Regions from separate parts of the Homo sapiens genome. Here region 2 is linked to region 1. Evidence: promoter capture Hi-C in 16 types of primary human blood cells and fetal thymus (Javierre and others, 2016). All regions are on one chromosome and are shown on one strand. Each heading gives the region's core, a stretch centred on a gene start or on the middle of the fragment in contact. The rest is flanking DNA. Distances are from core to core; before and after follow the strand shown.

The links. Contacts are between HindIII fragments. The CHiCAGO score rates a contact against its expected background, and 5 or more counts as called.
Region 2: a contact is called between the fragment with the promoter of SRA1 here and the fragment with the promoter of DIAPH1 in region 1, in 2 of 17 cell types (neutrophils and non-activated CD4 T cells). The highest score is 7.6, in neutrophils.

The regions. Positions count from the first base shown.
Region 1 is chr5:141,616,278-141,622,563 of GRCh38, forward strand. It overlaps DIAPH1 (diaphanous related formin 1), which reads right to left and starts at 2,723. Exons shown (of 28, transcript NM_005219.5): 1 at 2,521-2,723. The coding sequence starts at 2,637. HDAC3 (histone deacetylase 3) reads right to left here. Exons shown (of 15, transcript NM_003883.4): 15 at 4,604-5,260. The coding sequence ends at 5,191. RefSeq lists silencers at 2,301-2,497, 2,308-2,357, 2,418-3,077. The HindIII fragment of the contact is 3,913 bases long and covers 1,592-5,504 here.
Region 2 is chr5:140,554,440-140,560,725 of GRCh38, forward strand. It overlaps SRA1 (steroid receptor RNA activator 1), which reads right to left and starts at 3,034. Exons shown (of 5, transcript NM_001035235.4): 1 at 2,989-3,034; 2 at 2,708-2,833. The coding sequence starts at 3,013. It overlaps APBB3 (amyloid beta precursor protein binding family B member 3), which reads right to left. Exons shown (of 13, transcript NM_133173.3): 11 at 6,200-6,286; 12 at 5,874-6,065; 13 at 3,829-4,382. The coding sequence ends at 4,146. RefSeq lists a silencer at 1,594-1,743 and enhancers at 2,267-3,088, 2,954-3,313, 3,404-3,463. The HindIII fragment of the contact is 6,646 bases long and covers 1-4,438 here.

The DNA.
Region 1 (6,286 bases), core at 1,473-3,972:
CGTATTTAGAACCTGCATAAGCCAGGAAAGGTATGTAGCAGCTAAAGGAATTATAAACCCTCAAATGCAAACAACCTTCGGGCACACTTAGTCCAAACCAGTGCAGTTTTATACAGTACATTCTTAATGGAGTTCCAGAGGACACATACTCTAGAAAAGGTGGAGGCGGCGAAAGACCTTTGAGTTCAGTTTTAGCCTATAGTTCAAGAAAACTAAGCCACGGGTATCAAAAGCACACCAGCAATCTCGCCCACTCCACCCACCCACGTATACATACACAGACACAAAGAGAAGTGGATTGCAATGCTCCTCCTCATCTCTCATTTCCACAGAGTTCTCATAAAAGGAGCAAGAGGAAGAAAGAATATTCTGATGCCTTGAGATAGGTTACATTTGGCAATAAAAGGGTTAAGCAGCACTACTTTCCTAGAAACCTTCCAATTCCGTAGCTACTAATGCAATTTTCCTCATTACCTGAGCTATTTAGTTTTAAAAATTCAGCAGATTAAGGGTTAAGACTAACACCGCAGAAAGAAAAGAGAACTTGGTTCAGCTCCATCCTCTCTAAAGCAAATACCTACAACCCTGAGCCAAATCCATTAAACATATAGAAGACTTCATGGACATTCCAAAAGACAGGTGAAAAGGGGTTGAGCTTCCTCAGGTTTCTCACCTTACAGTACCACACACATAGTAGACTTCACAAGTTCGTGAAATAATTGTTAGATAAAATAGAGTACATATAAAATTCTACTCAAGACATGAAAACAAGTCACTGAGGTCACCACAAGTCAGCAGCAATAGCTGGAATTTGGGTGAGGAAGGTCAAACAGTACTCATGGAAATAAAATCAAAACAAAAAGATACAGAAATAGAAGGAATATGAGCCCTAGAACTTAAGTTTTGGAAGGAAAGCTAACGGGGGGGAGGGGTCAATTCTTATCCTAAAGAAACATACAAAAATGCTGCTTTAGTCACCAAAGAAGGAGGGGGTGTCAATACCCTTAACCTTATATTTCTAGGGGGGGAAAAAAAGATGTTCACCAGATAAAAACAGATGGTTACTGACATCTCAGATATCACTGGAAAGGGCAGTCCAGGAGCACTTGGTCTTGCTAGAAATAGGAAGAGATGAGTCACTATTTTAATTCTATTTAGAATTAAACATCTAACCCTCCAGGGTTAACATCTCAACCCTCTAGGTCATAAAACAACATTTTCTTCCTGTTTCCATCGCTTTATCAGTTTTCTTCCCAAATTTGTGGAGCTGGGTCAAAATGTTGGGAGGTGGGACTAAGAGTTACAAGCCATTTGTTTAGTAGAAAGATACACTAGTGTAAGGGCATAAATACCTGGAAGAGAAGACAAAAGAGCTACAGTTATAACTAGCTATTATAATGATCATCAATATCCAAGACTTTTCCTCTCCTGGACAGTGCCCCGTATCTTACAAAGCTTTTATAGCAAAAAAGCAACCAAACGGCTCCCTGGAGAGAGGCGTTGGTGTGGGCAAAAGGTAATGAAATATGATAGGGTTACATGTATATCACTATTCCTTCACTCGGATTGAAAGTAACTGGCACTTGAGGAAAGCTTACTCTTCTACAGGCACGCAAAGGGAAGCCGATAGTCGCCTTGGGGCACAAGAGGCAGTAGAAAAGGAGTAGAGGAGACGGTTATCATGGGAAATGTATAAAAAACAATTCAATTACAAACTTCTTGAACTCGCAGTCCAACTTTCTTCCCACAGGAGAGGTTTATCACCATCCTAGGTCAAGAAGGGCACAATCATGAGAGTTCTAATCCTCTGAAAAGTGATAAGCAACAGGGCAAAGAGAGAGGTTCTCTGGAGAGAGGAATACTGGTAAACAAATAAACGTCATGCCCCAGTGACCATAGGACCTGGGCAGGAGCCCATTCCTGTAATCGCAAGGACAAACGTCCAAAGAAGGAGTTGGGGGTAGGGCTCAAGTCAGGTAACATTCCTCAGGGGAAGGATTATCAAGTGACACCGGGCGGAGGGCCCACGGGGGACTGGGCGGGAGGAAAGTTAGCAGGTAAAAAGGATGAATCATGGAGAAGGAAGTGACCTTTAGGAGAAGGAAATACGAGAATACCAAAAAAGGTGTAAGGTTAAGAAGAGAAAATGGACCCAGAAGAGGGGACCAAAAAAGAGGAGGCGTGTTCGGGTACTGGAGGAAGAAGAAAGGAAGTGAGGCTGAGAGGGGAGAGACGGGGCTGAGAGCCGGCCGGGGATATGCGGGCGGGAGGGCAGAATGTAAGGGCTGGGGAACGAGGGAAGCCCCGAGGTGGCCGGGGCAAGAGCCGGGTGGGATTCCGGGGCTTCCCGAGGTCCCGAAGGGAGAGGATGTCGGGCTGCAGAGCTGCGGACCGAGCGAAACGAGGAAGGAAGGCGCGGGGGCGGCTCCCCAAAGCCGGGCAGGCGCCCCAGGGGCCGGCTGCAGGGGTCCAGAGGGCGGTTACGGGGCCAGGCAGGAGCGGGATGGGAGGGACACTCACAAATTTCTTAGATTTGCCGCCGTCGCCGCCCGCCGAGGGCAGCTCATCTGGGCTCCGGCCCTTCTTCTTGTCCCGGGTCCCGCGGCCGGGCCCCAGGCTCCCGCCGGGCGGCTCCATGTCCCGGTTCACGCTGGCCGGCGACCCCGCGCCTACGCCGCTCCCGCCTGGCAGCTCCGCGCCCGCCGCCGCCCAGTCGCTCTTTAGCCAGCCGCCGCGCCCCGCCTCATTAGCATGCCGGGCTGCGCGCGCCTCATGAATATACAACGACGACGCCTCGCTCCCGCCCGCCTGCCCCACTTCCGCCCGGACCCGCAGCCCCTACCAATGGGGGAAGGGAGAGGGGCGGAGGGAAGCCGCGGAAGCGCGCTACCTGCCCAGCGGACCTAACCATTCGGACCCACGTGGGGGGGGGTGGTGAGTGGGCGGTGCAGCTCTCCGCGGCCGCGGCGGAGAGCACCGCCCCCTGGCGGTTGGAGCAGCGCAGGCCTCTGGCTCCCACGCAGCGCCCACGTGGCTGTACAGCCTGACAGCCTGGACCCTCTCACATCCCAGACCAAAAATCGCGTGAGACCATTATCCTGGCAGAAAATTAGTGACAGGTTTTCCAAGAGAATGCAGTTTTCAATGTGTGCAATACCCATGGAACACATGAAAAAAATTATAGTGATAGCCACCATGTTTTGAAAGCAAGGTAGCAAGAACAGAGCTCGGTCCAGGGCAAGCACTAGACTAAACCAGACTCGCTCTGGAGTTTAATTTCCTAGTTCGAATTCCAGGTTAGGTACCATCTAATTGTTTCTAATCAGGACAAACTAATTATTGCCAACATGTGCCTAAACAGCAATAACAGTTACCACTTAACCATGCCCTTTGCTCTCTGCTAGGCACTAGGCAAACACTCTACATGTATTTTTCTAAGTCCCCACAGTCCCATGTGATAGATTCTGCTAGCCTCACCATTTTATAAATAGTAAATTTGGACTTTTGAGAGTTGAAGTGACTTGCCCAAGAACGCATAATTGATATAAAATTTAAACCCAGCTTAGTCTGATTTGCTGCCAAACCCTATGTTTAACCAGGATTCCCCACTGACATAAACCAAACATGAGTGAAAAGAATGAGTATTCTCCAAGAGTATATTCTTTGCTCTTCTAGCATGACTTTCTCCCTAAGCAATTTCATCCATTCTCCCAGCTACATCTGTCCCTTGTGTGACAGTTACGTGGCTACCAGTCGGCCTTCACAATATGGACTGAATATTCTTGACCACAGCTAGCAAGATTTCAAGCATAAGTTCCTGAAGGGCAGAGTCAGTGACTTACTTACTCTAGAGCCCCAGTACCTAGTCAAGGGCCTGAGATATACCAGGGACTCTGCCAAGCTGGCTGGCTCCTAAATTTGGCATTCATCTCTCTTGTGGTCCAGACCTTCTGATGGTGATCGGATAGAATGTTACATAGAGCTGTCCATCCCATACTTCAAACTTGACTTAGTGCTGAGCTTTCCAGACATTTTGTCTAAAAAGTCCAAAAGCTACTTTCTAAGCTAGTGTTGAGAACAGACAGAATCAGAGAATGGAGGGGAGGAAGTGACCCATCTATCAGTCCTCTTTCTTGTATCAGTCTGTATCTGCTACAATATTTATCATACTACTGACTGGAATGTAAACTCTTCTAGAGAAAGGTTCATGTTTGTGGCTACTACAGTATTTAGCATTGTTCTTCACATAGACAGATAATGGGCAACTTCTTCTGTCAGGCACTGTGCTAAGCACTTAACATGTTTTATCTCAGTGTATCTTCACCAACTAGCATCACTACTCTAAACACCCAGATTCAAAAACCTGAAGTCATCTTCTACTCCTCTCAAATCTGCCCAGGTTTGTCTAACTCTTAACCAAAATCCTCTATTAACTTCTTATATTTACAATAATAAATGTAGAATACATACACAGGGCCTAACGTAGGATAAGTGCTGAATGAATGTTAACTATGCTTTTATTACATGCATCATCATGCCCATTTCCCTCTCCTTTCATAAATAGGAAACTAGCAAGAATTAACATTCCTAGAAAGGCGAAAGGTACAAAAAATACCGACTTAGTTTATTGGATAAAAACAGTGGTAAAATGGACATAAAGCCAAAAGTGAGAACAGAACATTTTCATATCCTCCCCACACTTGAAAACATACTTCCCATCATCTGGGATTCAGGTGTTAGGGAGCCAGAGCCCCTTCCAAATCTCTCTCTCTTCATCTTCCCTGGAAGCAAGGGGAGGAAGAAGTCAGAACCCAGGGGAGGAGGAAGTCAGAGGCAATCTCAGTCCTTGTCTACCCGTTCATCCCTCAAAAATCTCTGGGTTCGAGGGAAGCAGGGAAGAAATAAGGGGCAAGGGGGGCTAGGGACTGGCCTCCAGGGCCCACTGCCAATAATGTCCCAGATAGCTATCCTTGTCTGTATCTCATCCCTAATAGGTACCATTGTCAGGCCTTGGGAGAGAGAGGAAAAGCAGGTAGATGGTTCGAGAACCAAATGTGGTCTCCAGACTCTTTCCCAGAGTCAGCAAAAGCCCTGGGGTGACCCCCAGGACTCTAGGAGCCACTCCTTTTCCCTCCAGCCCAACCAAGAGGTGAAAAGAAATTCCTTGGGACACAGCATCCCAAGCCACTCTTAAATCTCCACATCGCTTTCCTTGTCATTGTCATGGTCTCCATCATAGAACTCATTGGGTGCCTCTGGCCTGCAAAGCAAGGGGAGAGAGGTCAGGATCTCACTCTAAGTTCTAATCTTCTCCCAGCACCCTTTTCCAAAGCCATTTCTCAGGCCCCGTTGAGAACCACTCCTCCTCTTGTTGGTAGAGACTGCTATTCATTCACCCATTCACGTATCAAATAAACATTAAGGAACTACTCTATACAGACACTGTCATAAACCTTAGCAATACAGTAGAGTAACAAGCTGGACAAGGTTGTCTATCCTCAAAAAGCTTACCTAATAAATGAGACTAGTAACTAACAAAGTAAATAAATATAATAATTTCAGATGATGGAGAGTACAATTAATAAAATGAAGTGATAGGACTGAAGGTGATGAGAGGAAAAGGGTGAAATTTCAGACAGGACTATTGGGACATAAGACCTAAAGTCTGAGGAGGAGCTAAGCAGGCAAAGACTTCAGGAAGGCCATTCCAAGCTGCAAGAAAACCAACTACAGAGGTCATGAAATGGAAAGAGACTGATGTATTCCAGTAAGAACAAGGAGGCCAGGACAGCCGGGAGCACTGTGCATGGAGGAGAGTAGTTAGAGATGAGATCCTGGATGTAGGTAAGGGCTAGCATGCAGGACCTTTTTAAGCCACAGTCAAAATTTTGGATTTTCTTCTAAGTGCAAGGTAAAGGAGAGTTTTAATTTTAAGAAGAGTGACGTGGTATTATAAACCCATAGTGAAAGAATGGATGTGAAAGCAAAACAGGGCCCAACAGGTACTCAATATTGGTTTCTTTCTTTTTGAAAAAGTATTCTCAAAAGCCGGGCGTGGTAGCTCACACCTGTAATCCCAGCACTTTGGGAGGCCAAGGCAGGTGGATCACAAGGTCAAGAGATCAAGACCATCCTGGCCAACATGGTGAAACCCCGTCTCTACTAAAAATACTAAAGTTAGCCGGGTGTGGTGGCACATGCCTGTAATCTCAGCTACTGAGGAGGCTGAGGCAGGAGAATCGCTTGAACCTGGGAGGCGGAGGTTGCAGTGAGCCGGGATTAGCCA
Region 2 (6,286 bases), core at 1,784-4,283, 1.1 Mb before region 1:
TCCCACCACCATTCCTCCTAACCCACCTGCATCTGTGGCCACTTTTCTTCCTCTTGTAATAGATGAAAAGGTTCCTGCTCCTATCAAAAGCCATCTTACCAGCTGTACTCTGCATCCTAGCCTCTCTTGTCTTCTCTAGACTTCCCTACTGTAACTATCTTCTCTTGCATCATCAGCTCCCCCTCTCTACTGAATCATCCCGTTAGTGTACAAACATGCTCTAGTATATTACTATCAAAACACTCCCTTACTTCATGTTCCATTTTCAGATACTGTCCCATTTCTTATCTCTGCAGCAGCATTTGAGTGAGCTCTTTATAGTCACTCTCTCTACTTTTCACATTCTCTCCTCAGCCCATTCCAGCTGTTTCTGTTCTCACTACTGCAGAGACTTGCTCTTGTTATGATCACGAGTGACTGCTATGTTTGTCAAATCTACTGGTTCCTTGTCGCTCTTTTTTTTTTTATTGAGATGGAGTCCCAGGCTGGAGTGCAATGGTGCGATCTCGGCTCACTGCAGGCTCCACCTCCCAGGTTCAAATGATTCTCCTGCCTCAGCCTCCCGAGTAGCTGGGATTTCAGGTGCCCGCCACTACACCTGGCTATTTTTTGTATTTTTAGTAGAGACAGGGTTTTACCACGTTGGCCAGGCTGGTCTTGAACTCCTGACCTCGTGATCCACCCGCCTTGGCCTCCAAAGTGCTGGAATTACAGGCGTGAGCCACTGCGCCTGGCCCCTTGTCTCTATCTTGATGTCTCAGCAGCATTCATTACTATTGATTCATGTCTTTACGCTCTCCTATTTTCTTTTTTTATTTTGGTTTTGTCACAGAATATCACTCTGTCGCCCAGGCTGGAGTGCAGTGGTGCGATGTCGGCTCACTGCAACCTCCGCCTCCCAGGTTCAAGCGATTCTCCTGTCTCACCCTCCCAAGTAGCTGGTATTACAGGCCCAGCTAATTTTTGTATTTTTAGTAGAGACAGCGTTTCGCCATGTTGGCCAGGCTGGTCTTGAACTTCTGATCTCAGGTGATCTGCCCACCTTGGCCTCCCCATGTGCTGGGATTACAGCCGTGACTCACTGCGCCTGGCCTCTCCTTTTTTCTTCTTTGGCCATTTCCCAATCTCCTTTGCTGATTCCTTCTCAACCTTGAAATGCTAGAGTGCCCTACGGCTCTGTCCCTGGCCATATTCAAGCCCATGACATCAAATACCATCCTTGTAATGGTGACTTATTTCTCTAATTCTGGCCTAGAACATTCCCCAAAAGTAACAGCCTAAACTTCACATGGCCCCCCAAAAAAACTCCCCCTCCCCAAAACCACCATCCCCAGTCTTCCTATATCAAGCAAAAAAATTCAGTTATATGGATTCTTCCTAATCTACTCATTCCTACTGACCTTCTCCATCTCATATCCATCCAACTCCTACCACCCTGACTCCCACCCTTATGCAAATCATTAAATCTTGCCTATATTACCATAATAGCTGTAATTTGTCTTTCCACTTCCCTAAAATCTTGTTTTCACACAGCAGACACAGTGATCTTTCCAAAATGTAAATCAGTCCCTGGTTCTCAAGCTAGGAAGATAGTGCCCACAGGGCAAATGTCTGGAAACACTTTTGGCTATCACAACTGGGTGGATGCTACTGACATCTTTTGGGTAGAAGTCAGAGTTGCTGATTAACATAAGACACAGGAAAGTCCCTCACAAAGAATTATCTGGCCACAACCTATCAATACTGCTGAGTTTAAGAAACCAAGCCTTGTATCATTCTTCTACAGCAAAAAGGGTGTGGAGAATGGAGGGCCACTGAAAGAACCAAACCTGAGCCCCTTTATGGGGGCCACGGCACAGCCCATTTAATGGCTTGGAAAATTCTCGGGGGGAAAGGTGGCTCTCCTCTACTTTAAACTTTTCAATGGCTTCTAACTTTATGTAGATTAAAATACAAATTCCTCATCCTGCTTTACAAAGCCCACTATGCTGTAGCCAGCCACTCTGTATTTCATCAGTCTCTGAATTGGCCAAACTTATTCCTTTTGCAGCTGTTTCTTTTGCTTGGAATGCTTTTGTACATGATCTTTGTGTGGCTTAAATGTCAGCCCCTCAGACACCTCGTTACCCAGTCATATTACATCACCGCTTATTTTCTGTAGCACCCTCACCACTATTTCATCTTTCAGCCCATCTCCAGTGCTGCAACGTGGACTTCCTGAAAGCAGAGATCTTTTTTTTTTTTTTCTCACTGCTGTCTAGTTCGCCCTCAAACAGTGCCTGACTTATAGAAGTGCTCAGTAAATAACAGTGATTAAATGAATGAAAAACTGTGAAGTCTGACGATTATCATATACCTAAGTGAAGACAGAATGGACAAATGAATATGCCACTATACGGTTCTGGCAAGAGGTATAGGTTAACAAAGAAAAATAACTTCAGGATTAAAACTATATTAAAAGCCACAGGTCTGGATAAGATCATCTAGGATGAAAAAATAGTCTTTTTAAATCAATACACCATTTATTAACCTGAGCAGCAGAGAAGGGGCTCGGAAAAGCACCTGCTCTGAGACCCTTACTGGAGCCCCAAAACTTCTCTCCTTAAGGAGCCCTCGGGGAGAGAAAAAAGCCTTCCAAACAGGCTTATGCCTTACACCCCCCCCCCCCCATTCTCCGTCTGTCTCCGAGCACAGGGGCCCCACGCACCTCTGGGGGATCCATCCTGGGGTGCGGCGACCCTCTTGGTAAGCAGCGAGCGCCTGGGTCCGCCGGCCTGGGTCTGCAGCCCGTATGAGAACTGCGGCGGGTCGTTCCAGCCGCGTTCCTTGTTGCCTGCGGAGGCGAGGGATGTGTGAAGCGAGCCCGGAACTCCACTGTTAGCTTATACTGGGGCTGGGGGAGACAGAGGGTCCATACTAAGCGCCGCAACCGCCCCCAGCCTAGGCCGGGGCGACAACCTAGTGCCCTAGCCCGCCGGCTGCGCTCACCCGGCTTCACGTACAGCTCCGCCATCTCCACTTCCGCTTGGCCAGCGGGGCAGCGCGTCATTTCCGGGGCGGCCCCTCACGCGGGCCAGTTGAGACACGTCCAGGGCCAGGCGGGTTGCCGGAATCCGTGGAGGATGGATGCTGGTTCACAACCGTCGGGAGCCGCTGTGGGGACCCTGCGGCAACTCCCTAAGACTCGAAGGCTCCATCTAATGAACCATCAGGGCCCTGGTCACAAGGCACCAAAGGAGGTTGCTGTCCAGGAGCCAGTGCTCTAGGAGGCCTCATCCTCTCAGGAGCAAATTCAAACAAAGAAGCTCCTGCCCCACATACACCCCGCTGTGATCTAGCCAGGTTGACTTCTACAGCCTCCTCTTGCATTGCCCTGCACAATCTCCACATTCACGTCCGGTAGCCTCACTAGTACTCATCTTCCTTCAGTTCTCAGTTCAGATGTCAGTTCTTCAGGAGGCCTTCTGGAATGTCTCAGGCCAGGTTAAGTGTCTCACTTGAGCTCCCACGACCCTACAACCCTCTGAGATTTCGTAGGTGTATTACATCACATCTTCTGCCTTATTTGACTCTTGTTCGTTTCCCTGTCGGACAGTCTTAGAAGGTGGGACCTTGACTATTTTATTACATTCCCAGTGCCCAGCTTAGTGCCTGGCACAGGGAACTCCTTAGAAAATATGTTTGTTGAATGAAGTCAGATCTCCATCACACCCATGCTGTCATGTGACTACAGAGAGCCACCAACATCAAGCACAGACACAAAGACACTCATCTCACACAGGGTGTTAGCCCCCAGCCCTGTCCCAGGCCCAATATACTCACATCCAGTGAGGTCACTGAGGGATTTTTATTTGCACTGATTTTGCTATAAAGTGTTACTGAGGTAGAGCCAACTGTCCAGGGTTGGACAGGGGCAAGGAACACAAGGACCCAAGGAAAGGGGAGCCAGGGTCCTACGTTGTGGTGCAGTGCCTCCCAGTCATCCGTATAAACAATAAATTGGGCAATAAATAGACGGTGGACAAGGATCGGAGGGACAGGCAGAGAAGGCTTCAAGGAGTGACAGGCTATAGGCCTTGAGGAATAAAACGGTACAGAGTTAGGCATGGACCCAGAGCCTACTTCCCCAGCCTTCCCAGATAAGTTTAGGGCATATGGAGCAGAGAGGGTTTCAGCCGGAAGGCATCAAGAAAAGAGAAGACACCCCGCTTTCGAGGGGTTGCCCCTGCACCGCCAACCCCTCCTTTGAGCAGGGGGAGGGGCAGGGGACCTCCTGGGGAATCCATGGAGCTGGTCCGCTTGAGCCGCAGGCGGGCACGGGCCTGGGCACCCCAGGCCTTGCCTCGAGCTGCAGAGGCCACAAGACACTTCTGGTACTGAACCTAGGGAGAAGGGGAATGTGAGGATCCAGCTACTTTCTGCCTCTAGACTCCCTGAAAGCTTCTGCAGGACAGGGAACTGGCCAAAGCTTCTGTCTGATAACAAGGTTGGTAGTCAGCCACATGTGGAGTTTCTAGAGCATTCCCAGGTAGCTCAATAACAAAATCATAAAACATGTATCAGACACTTAAGGAGGGCAGGCTGGACACTGCTAAGTGCTTTGTATAATTCAGTTATTTATGAGGGGTTATTATCCCTGTTTTGCAAAAGAGGAAATTGAGATTCAGAGAGTATATGACTTGCCCAAGGTCACACAGCCAGAGAAAGGCAGAAATGGCATTCAAACCTAGTTCTCTCTGATTGCAGAGCCTAAACTCTTAATTACATGTACCACTATGTTGCCTCTTTTCCATCTCTCACTGGTGGGGACTAGTCCCTGGCAAAGCAGATTCCCTAGTCAAGGGTAAAGGTGTACAACTCAAACTCCAGCCCCAATGCAACTGCTCCCAGTCATCTCATCTGAACAGCTCAAAGGTGTCCTAATTGGCCTTCCTACCTCCTATTACGTCCTCCAAATCTTTTACCCATACTATAGCTTAAGTGGTCATCCTAATCCATAACCCTGACTTCACTCTCGGGCTCCAGTGCTTCCTAGTGCCTCCAGATAAACTCATCACCCTGACCTATGAGGTCCCCCAAACCTGGCTTCTGTCATTCTCTCTGATCTCACCTCTCACTACGTCCCCCTTGCATGCCAGATACACTAGATTCTTTCAGATACTCTCATCCACTAATATCTCTCACCTTCACAGCTAAGGTTCCCTGTGCTTGGTACACCTGCCCCACTCCCCTTCACCTGGCTAACTTCCCTCTTGGACTGTCGGATTTCTATCACCTCTTACAGGTAGCCTTCCTGACCCCTAAAGGGGCCACCTCTTCCATCAACCAGTGGTGTACAACTTATTTCTGGTCTATCTTGGCTCTATCCTAAGTGTTTTGTGAAGGCAAGGGCTGTGCCCTCTACAGCACTAAATTCTCAGGGTCAGCTATGGTGTCTGGGACCCTGTAGGCACCCATATTTGTTGAATGAATGGGCAAACTGAACTAACGAAGTATAAGCAACCCACACTCAAATGCCCACAGATGCCAGGAAATAAACCTAAATGAGACAAACAGGAACAATGCCAACTCTTTAGGGCACAGCTTCTGCACAACTCTGGCTGCATGCTGACACTTACACGTGTGAACTGAGTGCCAGAGCTCTTGATATTTTAAGAAAAACAAGAATAGCGATTATTATGTGAAATGTCCTGGCCTTTAAATATTGGCAACTAATTAAAACTTACTAAAAACAACATGAGGGCCAAAACATTAATGAACCAGAATCAGCCCAGGTTTGTGATCTCTGAAGAGGCTGCCGACCCGGAGCCCAAGTAAACAGTGGAGAGCAGCTGCAGGGCAATCCCACCAACCCATTCCCACCCATGACTCACCATACAGGCAGCCTGCACAGCTTCAGAGAGTCCCCCTGCATGGGGCTGGCACCAGAAGGCTGCGCACTGGAAGCTCTGACGGCCCAGGTCAGCGATGAGGCCAAAGGTGTGTGGGTCGCGGCCAACACCAATAAATGTCACAAGGCGCACAGGGCACTGCCACAATGGCTCCTCCTCTGTACTGGCCTCTGCCTGCCCACACCAGGCCTAGTCACTAGAGGGCCAAGCACGGGCCAGACCCACTTAACTTTTCCGACAGCAAGCAGTGACCCCTCAGCATCCCTGCTCACCCCTCCAAAGCCCCCAACTTCACCCTCTTCTGGTACCTGAATGGGGTGTGCAGTCATGAGAGAGTCAGACACACTGAGCATGGTGGGGACCCAGGCATTCCGGTCCCCCCTGGCGGTGAGGGT